3 separate regions of the Homo sapiens genome follow, and all the other regions are linked to region 2. The links are contacts of gene promoters, found by promoter capture Hi-C in blood cells and fetal thymus (Javierre and others, 2016). All regions are on one chromosome and are shown on one strand. The core of a region is centred on a gene start or on the middle of the fragment in contact, and the rest is flanking DNA. Distances in the headings are between cores, read along the strand shown.

The links. Contacts are between HindIII fragments. The CHiCAGO score rates a contact against its expected background, and 5 or more counts as called.
Region 1: a fragment that was not itself captured here is called in contact with the fragment with the promoter of ADH5 in region 2 in 1 of 17 cell types (fetal thymus); the score reaches 10.1 in fetal thymus.
Region 3: a fragment that was not itself captured here is called in contact with the fragment with the promoter of ADH5 in region 2 in 1 of 17 cell types (fetal thymus); the score reaches 5.2 in fetal thymus.

The regions. Positions count from the first base shown.
Region 1 is chr4:95,153,478-95,156,475 of GRCh38, reverse strand. BMPR1B (bone morphogenetic protein receptor type 1B) reads right to left here. Exons shown (of 13, transcript NM_001203.3): 13 at 1-1,928. The coding sequence ends at 1,803. Among named protein-coding and RNA genes, the nearest start is that of UNC5C, 390 kb to the left of the region's middle. The HindIII fragment of the contact is 1,070 bases long and covers 1,004-2,073 here.
Region 2 is chr4:99,087,503-99,090,300 of GRCh38, reverse strand. ADH5 (alcohol dehydrogenase 5 (class III), chi polypeptide) reads left to right here and starts at 1,513. Exons shown (of 9, transcript NM_000671.4): 1 at 1,513-1,612. The coding sequence starts at 1,601. LOC100507053 (a long non-coding RNA gene) reads right to left here and starts at 1,444. Exons shown (of 10, transcript NR_037884.1): 1 at 1,017-1,444. RefSeq lists a silencer at 1,481-1,530 and a promoter at 315-1,568. The HindIII fragment of the contact is 7,789 bases long and covers 1-1,785 here.
Region 3 is chr4:103,194,824-103,197,596 of GRCh38, reverse strand. It overlaps CENPE (centromere protein E), which reads left to right. Exons shown (of 49, transcript NM_001813.3): 2 at 747-838; 3 at 1,345-1,434; 4 at 1,559-1,677; 5 at 2,364-2,483. Among named protein-coding and RNA genes, the nearest start is that of CENPE, 2.1 kb to the left of the region's middle. The HindIII fragment of the contact is 1,020 bases long and covers 846-1,865 here.

The sequences.
Region 1 (2,998 bases), core at 289-2,788, 3.9 Mb after region 2:
ACCGACTTCAGAAGTGAGGAAAATGTTTTCTCATGTTTCATGTAGCTGTCAAATTTTCAAAAATCCTCCATCCTTCAATCACCCAGTGGGGAAAATGTGTTATAAAACACTGCCCCCTGGAGTATTCTGGGAGGAATGTCTTAAAAAAAAAAAAAAACAGCAAGGAGAAAGTACTTTCAAATTCTTTACTAACCACTAACAGAATTTCTAAGAAGCAAAAGAAAACCACAGAAAGGAAATGTATATGAATAAAGTTGAGCAGGATGTGTACAACTTTAAACTGTATTGTATTCATGTTGCTAAACAATATTGGCCTTCTCGATGATTTTATTCATGTTGCTCCAAAGTTAAAACCCTGTAGAACTAAGTAGGTGAAGAGATATTTTGTATAAGTGCCACAGAAGAGAAAATATAATAAATTAAATAGTGAATTGAGCATCACTAGAATAAAATAAAATGAGTAGGCATTCCTAAGATGTGAAATGATCACCTAAGATATACATGCTCCAACCATATTGATTTTAGAACAAAACACAGCAGCCCATAACAGTTTGTGGCCTCTACTAACTGTCCTCTGCTGTCCCATCTAGAGGTTATGTTTCTCTATTTTTAAAATAAAATGTAGTTAAATTAGCCTGACGGATGTTTCCTCTCTATCCCTTATCTCAGACACATACAAAACAGACAGACAATAACAAAAAGACATCATCTTTATCTGTACAAAATAAGGTATGCACACTTTTTTCTTTGTGCTTCTGAGATTGGCTCCTTTGCATATATAAGATACAAGCCATCTGCACGATCACCCTCATTTCCTATCTTTGTTGACATGTTCCTCTTACAACACAAGAGCAAATTACCTCTATTTGAAAGCACCCTGTCTTCAACACAGCTCATGACAATTTTATTTAATATTGATCCTTTGAATGAGAGATCAAAAGCATGCACAGGTCAATCCTCTGCACATTAAAAAAAAAAAAAAAAAAAAAAAAAAAAAAAAGCTTTCTTTGTGTTTAATGAAAAGGGTTTTACCATGAAAGAGATGCCTAACTCAATCAGAAACAGAAGTGGATCTGAAGAACACCTATCAACAATTACTTCTATTAGAGTCACATAAACCTTCATTTGTTCCATATTGCCTGAAGCTGCAAAAGGCCACCTGCAGGAATTCCAAATGTGGTCCTAGACAGGCGGTGTTTGTACCCAGTGCATTCACATTACCATAGCGGCCCCAAATGCAGGGATGGCCAAAGTGGTCTGAGGAGGCCAAGACGGGGTGGGGAGTATGTTTAAGATGAGTTCCGTTCTATGTCCTCCAACTTAGACTGTCTTTTGGTTCACAGAGTGCAACAATATTTTACCAATGGAAAAACAAGTATTTTAATTTACCTTCCAGCAGAGTTCCTGGGAAGAATTTTGTTGTTATTATTTAAACTATAATACTATAACCCTTAAACCATCCACATTATCTGTTTTATTTTGGCAAAATGAAAGCATCTTAAAAAAAAAAAAAGGCAATCACAAAATACAGGGCTTTCTTAGAAAGCAACATGCATCATATCTTGAACAAGTTACCCAAGCGGTTTCTCCGTCCTACAAACAGACATGGATCAATCTCTCCTTCTGGGAGCTTCTCTGTCTTTGCCCAGGTCGCTCCCTGAGAGGTGAGGTCTGAACCCACTGGGAAGCAGGACGATGTTCAAGGCTTGTACTGTGGATGCTTATTTGATGTCTTTTGCTCTGCCCACAAACAGAAGAGTACCTGTTGGCTTTCTGCAGAGATGCTTACTTTTCCTCTCCTATCAGAGTTTAATGTCCTGGGACTCTGACATTTTGGCAAGTGTTTTCTTAACCCGCAGGGCTGTCAGCCTTGATGCAGGATTGTGAGCCCAGCATTCTGTCATGAGTTTTCCCATCTGCCTTAGACACTGAGGAAGAGAAATGTTAGAAAAATGTATCATCTGCAAGGCTGGCACCTGTTACAATGTAGCTTTTTAGTTTTAGGTTCATTAAGTTTGAATATATTTTTAAAAGGTACCCTTAAAACCATGTAGAAGTAAAATTCTGTAAGCTTTTTTCATGCAAAATTATATATGACTAAAACAGATGTTCATGTCTTCTTTGTGATAGAAACAAGCAGGTGGTTCTGCTGATTGTAGAAAGGTGTCTTTGAAATTAGTGTTAAGCAAACATAAAAATACCCAGGGAGTCTGTATTCCACTCAATACTCCCAGATTGTTTATAACACTTGATAAGTTTTAATCTTTTATCTAATTCCATACTATGCAAACAAACACAGTTATTCCTAAATCATAGCTGTCTGCTGCAGTAATAGCATCACACTGCACCATTTAACAAGATTAATGACCTGTGCACAGCATCACTAAAACTTTCTCCTGTGGTACATCAATTATTGGTCTTCCTATTGAAAAGTACAATTTCACTTCATAAGAAATCCTCAGTGAAGAGATATCAAGTAACACCAAAAGCCCACAATAACAGAGCTCCAGCATCTCATAAAGCTTTCTGCACAGCTTGCTGGAAAACGTATATATTATTTAGCATTTTAGTAACCAGACACAAAACCAATGAGCCAAAGGTGTTTTTGTTTTTGTTGTTGTTTGTTTATTTGTTTTAAGACAGGGTCTCGGTCTGTCGAGTGCAGTGTCATGATCCTGGCTCATTGCAACCTCCGCCTTCCGGGTTCAAGCAATTCTCGTGCATCAATCTCCCGAGTAGGTGGGAATACAGGTGTGCACCAACACACTAGGCTATTGTTTGTATTTTTTAATAGAGATGGGTTTTCACTATATTGGCCAGGCTGGTCTCGAACTTCTGGACTCAAGTGATCCACCCGCCTCGGCCTGCCAAAGTGCCGGGATTACAGATGTGAGCCACAGTGCCCGGCCCAGAGATTATATTTAAATGGCTTTTACACTTCAGAAATAGTGCTCTGTCCCCCCTTTGCAGTGCTTTGGTACGTTTGATAAGAGCCTGT
Region 2 (2,798 bases), core at 264-2,763:
TCAGTAATCCTGTAAGAAATTATGAAAGCCTGAACTAATACAGCAGCAGTGGGGAGAGAGAGGCACAAGACCAGAGAGATATTTAGGGCTTGGTGACAAACTGAATGCAGGGACCGAGGGAGAGGGAGAAGTTGTGACTCTCATGTTTCTGGCTAGGGTAAGTATGTGGAGAGTGTCAACACACAGAGGAAAGAGTCCCTATAAGGAGAAAATATTAATAGGAGTTTTAGGAGTTGCATTCGATTGTGAGATATCCTAATGGAGACAGAAATCCAGTAGGCAGTTACATGTCCAAGTCTGGAGTTTAGGGGAGCCATCCTGATTGGAGATAATAATCTGGTAGTCATCTTTCCATAAATAGACGTTAAAAGCCAAAGTGTGAGTGAGAGAGTGGAGTGAAAGGACGGAAAGACTTTGGACAATCTTACCATATGTACCCGGAAAAGAGCCAAGAAAAAGACTGAAAGACAGAAAAGAGCAGTGTGTCTGACAGAGCTATTTTAACAAAATTCAGCGTTTACAACAGAGTTTAAGAGTAAACTGGCAGGCCAGGTGCGGTGGCTCATGCCCGTAATCCCAGCACTTTGGGAGGCTGAGGTGGGTGAATCACTTGAGGTTAGGAGTTCAAGACCAGACTGGCATACATGGTGAGACCAACCCCCTGCCCCCACTCCCAATCTCTACTAAAAATACAAAATTGAGCCAGCGTGGTGGCGTGTGCCTGTGATCCCAACTACTCAGGAGGCTGAGGCACGAGAATCACTTGAACCTAGGAGGCGGAGGTTGCAGTGACCCGAGATCGCGCCACTGCACTCCAGCCTGGGCGACAGTGCGAGACTCCGTCTCAAACAAACAAAGAAAGAGTAAACCGACAAATACTACATTCTCTCTCTCTACACTCTGGCCCACTCTTAACACAAAAAACTGTCCAGGATCAGGAGACTTTTTGTTCTCCTCATCTCCTCCTTCCAAAGTTCTCTGCCCACGTTCTACTGTCTCCCCAAAATCCTACCTACCCTTCAGGAACTGCTGGAATGGGAGCTTGGGAAGTTTCAGCAAACTCCTCTCTCCTCCTTTGTGGCCCCTTTATTCCCAAAGCTGTGTCCTCTCCCTATGACGAGTCCCTTGAGGGGCTGTATCTTACTCCTTGTGTCTCCAAGCACACATAATGTGTATTAGGGGAGGAAGCATTCGCCAGTGGAGCACAAAGCTGTTGCAGGTCTCTTACTGGTTCTCAGGCGCTTTCAGTGAAATTCCCGTTCCCTCACCGTCCACATCTGTAATTTGCAAGTCTTATCTACGATAACTGCTGTAAAGTTACACGGGGAAGCCCTTTCCCGACAAAAAAAACGAGTTCTGCAACAAGTCCGTCGGATTTTAGCAATGAAACCGGCGCCGTGCAGCCTCGCCGGCGAGTGCACCCTGGAACGCACAACTTAGCGGCACGCACCACAGCTCGAGCACCGCCCTTCCGGTTGGAGCCATTGCAAGCCCCCCCCACGCCCCGCCCCCCTCGCTAGGCGCTCGCCACGCCCATGCCTCCGTCGCTGCGCGGCCCACCCCGGATGTCAGCCCCCCGCGCCGACCAGAATCCGTGAACATGGCGAACGAGGTAGGGCCCGTTGAGCGGAGGGCCCTGAGTCCAAGGGAGGGAGTGCATGGCATGGGACTAGGCTGCTATCCTCGGGGGCGCGCGAGGCTCGGCGCCCAAGACGGGATCTGGCTCTTGGTTCTGAAACTGGGCCCCCAGCGAGCGGCTCAGAGGGGCAGAAAGAGAAGGAAGCTTTGTCTCGGCTCTTCAGTTGGGAAGCAGCTTTCTTTGCTGCTTCTGGGACAGTCGGAACGGGGTGGGGGGGTGGGAGAGCCGGAGAGTGGGGGGCAGGGGCTGGTCAGGTCGGTATCCCAGTGGAAATGGCTTAGGAGCGGCCACGCATTGCTTCTTACACGAAATTAAGTAACTCGCTCTGGGTCATTCTTGCAGCTTGCATACTTGGCAGAGCTGCAGCCAGATCCCGTGCTTCTAACTCCTAGGTTGCTTGTGTTGCATAATTGAGCCTACGCCTTAATTATTGTGCCTCCAAGGAGTGTATTTTGGAAAGACCCCTACGTCCCTTTCAGAAACATTTTCGAGCACTTAAATACCAAGAGATTTATATTCCCTCTAGTCCTCACGTAACAAACACCTCTGCGAGGTGTTATCCCCATCTTACCAAAAACTGAGGTTTGAGGTTGGTTGTGCTTGGTCACACCAACGATGGCGAGCTGGGATTCCGACCCAGGTCTGCTCCTCTATGACAAATTCATAAAATACAAATTAGACAGTAAAGAAAGGCAGAAATTACGAATAACATACTCAGTCTAAAGTTGCTGATTATTTTAATGTTTTGCAATTTTGGACATTTTCTAGTAAGACAAATGGCCTTAAACATATTGGAGTTTGAAAGAAATAAACTCTAAACAGTCTTTCAGACTTAAACTGGTAGTTGCTTTTCCTTATTACTGAGTGTCTTTATTCAGAGAAGGTGAAAGATTATAATTGTTACTATAGTTCAAATGTTGAAGTAGGGCCATTTCCCGCGGATTTAGAGTGGGGCTTTGTTTTGCTTAGAATTGTCAGTAAAAGGAAAAGGTTAGGCTCCATTAAGACATTTTTTAAAGGGGAGCAGGCCATCAAATTTAGTATTCTTGTTTCTTTGGATTCCTATGTTGCATAACTTAATTGTTAGTATTCTGAATCTGACTTGTGGAGTTGAAATTTATGGCACATTGAAATGAAAAAGGTTCTAATGCAGTGTCTG
Region 3 (2,773 bases), core at 106-2,605, 4.1 Mb before region 2:
CTTTGTGTGTGTGAGAAATTTTTATTGAACACGGGGTTTAATAAATGCAAATACCAAGATCAGGAATTTCCTATTTTTGAGGAGCTCATTATCTAATGCCTTAAACGGCTACATAAAGAAACCATTAGGATACCTTTTGACAAGTGTTATGATGGGCAGGTAGAGAATGTTTGCTAGAGGAGTTATTAGCCCATCAGAGACGAAAGCTTCCCGTGGGGTGAACTGGTGTCAGAAAAGTCTTGACGCTTTTCATGAGTGAAATAATCCCTATGTTACTTAATGGAAAGGGAAGTCAGAGTATTCCAGGCACAGAGAGGTTACATCTGTCATTTGGGGAAGACCTTCAGGTAGAGCTTAGGATGTATCTAGGAATTCAGAGGAAAATGGAAGAGAGAAATGACATGATCTAGGACTCGTGCCCTGCTGAGGATTTCATAAGTTTCCAAAAGGTTTTAAGAATTTTAAGCAAGACAGACATAATCAGAGTTGCATTTTGAATCCATCCCTTTGTTTACCAGTACTGGGGGAGAGGGTGAGAATGAAAGCCTTCACAAGAAAACACTTTTGAGGCGGCAGAAGGTCACTGAAGCTCCATTTAAGAGTTGAATCCTCAAAGATGGACTTTCTGTCATTCTCTTATGTTACTATCTTTCAAAATATTCTTTAGCAGGTGAAATCTTTTCAATTATTCCTCCTATGACATGACTTTTATGACTGGTTAAAATGCGGTGTTTTTATTCTTTTAGAGAAGAATCACTTGGAGAAACTGCCCAAGTTTACTGGAAAACTGACAATAATGTCATTTATCAAGTTGATGGAAGTAAATCCTTCAATTTTGGTAAGCTTATAATAGCATCAAAAGTTACCTTGTTATCCTTTTGCTATTAAAAGTACAAAAGGCTTATCAATAATATTAGATTTGTCACTAAAGATTAGACTAAGCCTTCTATAAACTGCTTCACTGGAAACAAAATTGTTTATCCATCATGTATTTAAGTAAGGTAACCAATTGGCATTTAAAACAGTTATAATCACAGTTATCTAATTTGCATCTAGGTAGATTCCAGACCCCCATGTGCAAACACTATACCTTATTGCCTCTTGAAAGAACATAGAAAAGTTGACTTGTAGTGTATTTTTTGTGTGTGAAAATGAACTCATTTTACCTTAGGGAAGGGTATTTTCAGAGAACCAAAAAGTTGAAAAAAATACTGTGTCTTAAATAGTTGATCATCCTACATTCTGACAGTTTTACTTTTGGGAATAATTACTAATTTGGAATGAAAACACAGTGGACTCATTTGATTTAACTTCTGTGTTGTTGTTGTTGTTGTTGTTGTTTAGATCGTGTCTTTCATGGTAATGAAACTACCAAAAATGTGTATGAAGAAATAGCAGCACCAATCATCGATTCTGCCATACAAGGCTACAATGGTTTGTATTCACTCAATGCTGCAGAAACATTTTAGTCTTGGGCGTCTGTGCAACAAGCATGCATAGTTTTACCCATTATAGGTTTGTTTTTAATCTTTGCGTATGTGTGTTTTGTTTTTTGCAGGTACTATATTTGCCTATGGACAGACTGCTTCAGGAAAAACATATACCATGATGGGTTCAGAAGATCATTTGGGAGTTATACCCAGGGCAATTCATGACATTTTCCAAAAAATTAAGAAGGTAAGTAACTTAACTGGATTTCTAGTACGTACAGGTAAAACTAGTAAAAACTGGGTACCAGTCTTAGTGTATTTCTCTTGTAAAGATGAAAGGAAGTAGATTTACAGTTATTGTTTGATTATCCATGGGGAAAGAAGAAAGGCATAGCATAGATTCACTTTTATCTCCACAACTTACTTTATAAAGCTTAAAGTTCTTTTATTCTTTCTCTTGAATTCTGCAACAATAATACTCTCAACAAAAAGTAGGCATTAAGGAACAAGAAAATGTTATCAGAATGGTTAGCTCCACCTAACCATTTAACTATCAGTGATTATAAAGGAACAGTAGAAAGTGGATGTAGGTAAAAAAAGAAGGGAAGCAGAAAGCCAGAATAGGCAACCGAGTTAGTTGGTTTCAAATTAGCATTTTTATTAAAATAAGAACATCTTTTGAGAGGGTTTTATTTTGAGCCTAGAGTTTGAGCCTAGAGTTGGTGTTCTCCCAGCTTTATGGTACTTCACTTTTCATTATTTCTGTAACGATGCTTTTATATTTTTGTGTTCATTATTTTGTCAACAGTAGAACCAAGGGGTTTCTTAGTTTGTTTTACATACATTTTACCTCTTTAAGCACATGAGCATTTAGCATTAGGTTTTCACAATTGGATGCTTCCTGGTGTTTTTATATAATTTTTTTTCTTCTAGTTTCCTGATAGGGAATTTCTCTTACGTGTATCTTACATGGAAATATACAATGAAACCATTACAGATTTACTCTGTGGCACTCAAAAAATGAAACCTTTAATTATTCGAGAAGATGTCAATGTGAGTAGCAGACTTAAGGGAGCTTTAAAATTGACTGACTTATTGAGATTATTGTTCTTGAATGTTTACCTTTAATTTCTATAGTTTTTAAAGTGTCTCCTATTTCTATAGTATGTGAGGGTTTTTTTGAAGTATTTATATTCATCTTTTAAACAATATGAATAGTTTTAAAATACTGACAGCTCTAATATTTTGGTTTAAGTGTAAAAATAGCAAGTTGGAAGTATCAGGTTAGAATTTGTTGTGCTTTGGTATGTGAAATAAATTGTGGGTATTCATAGAATTATTTG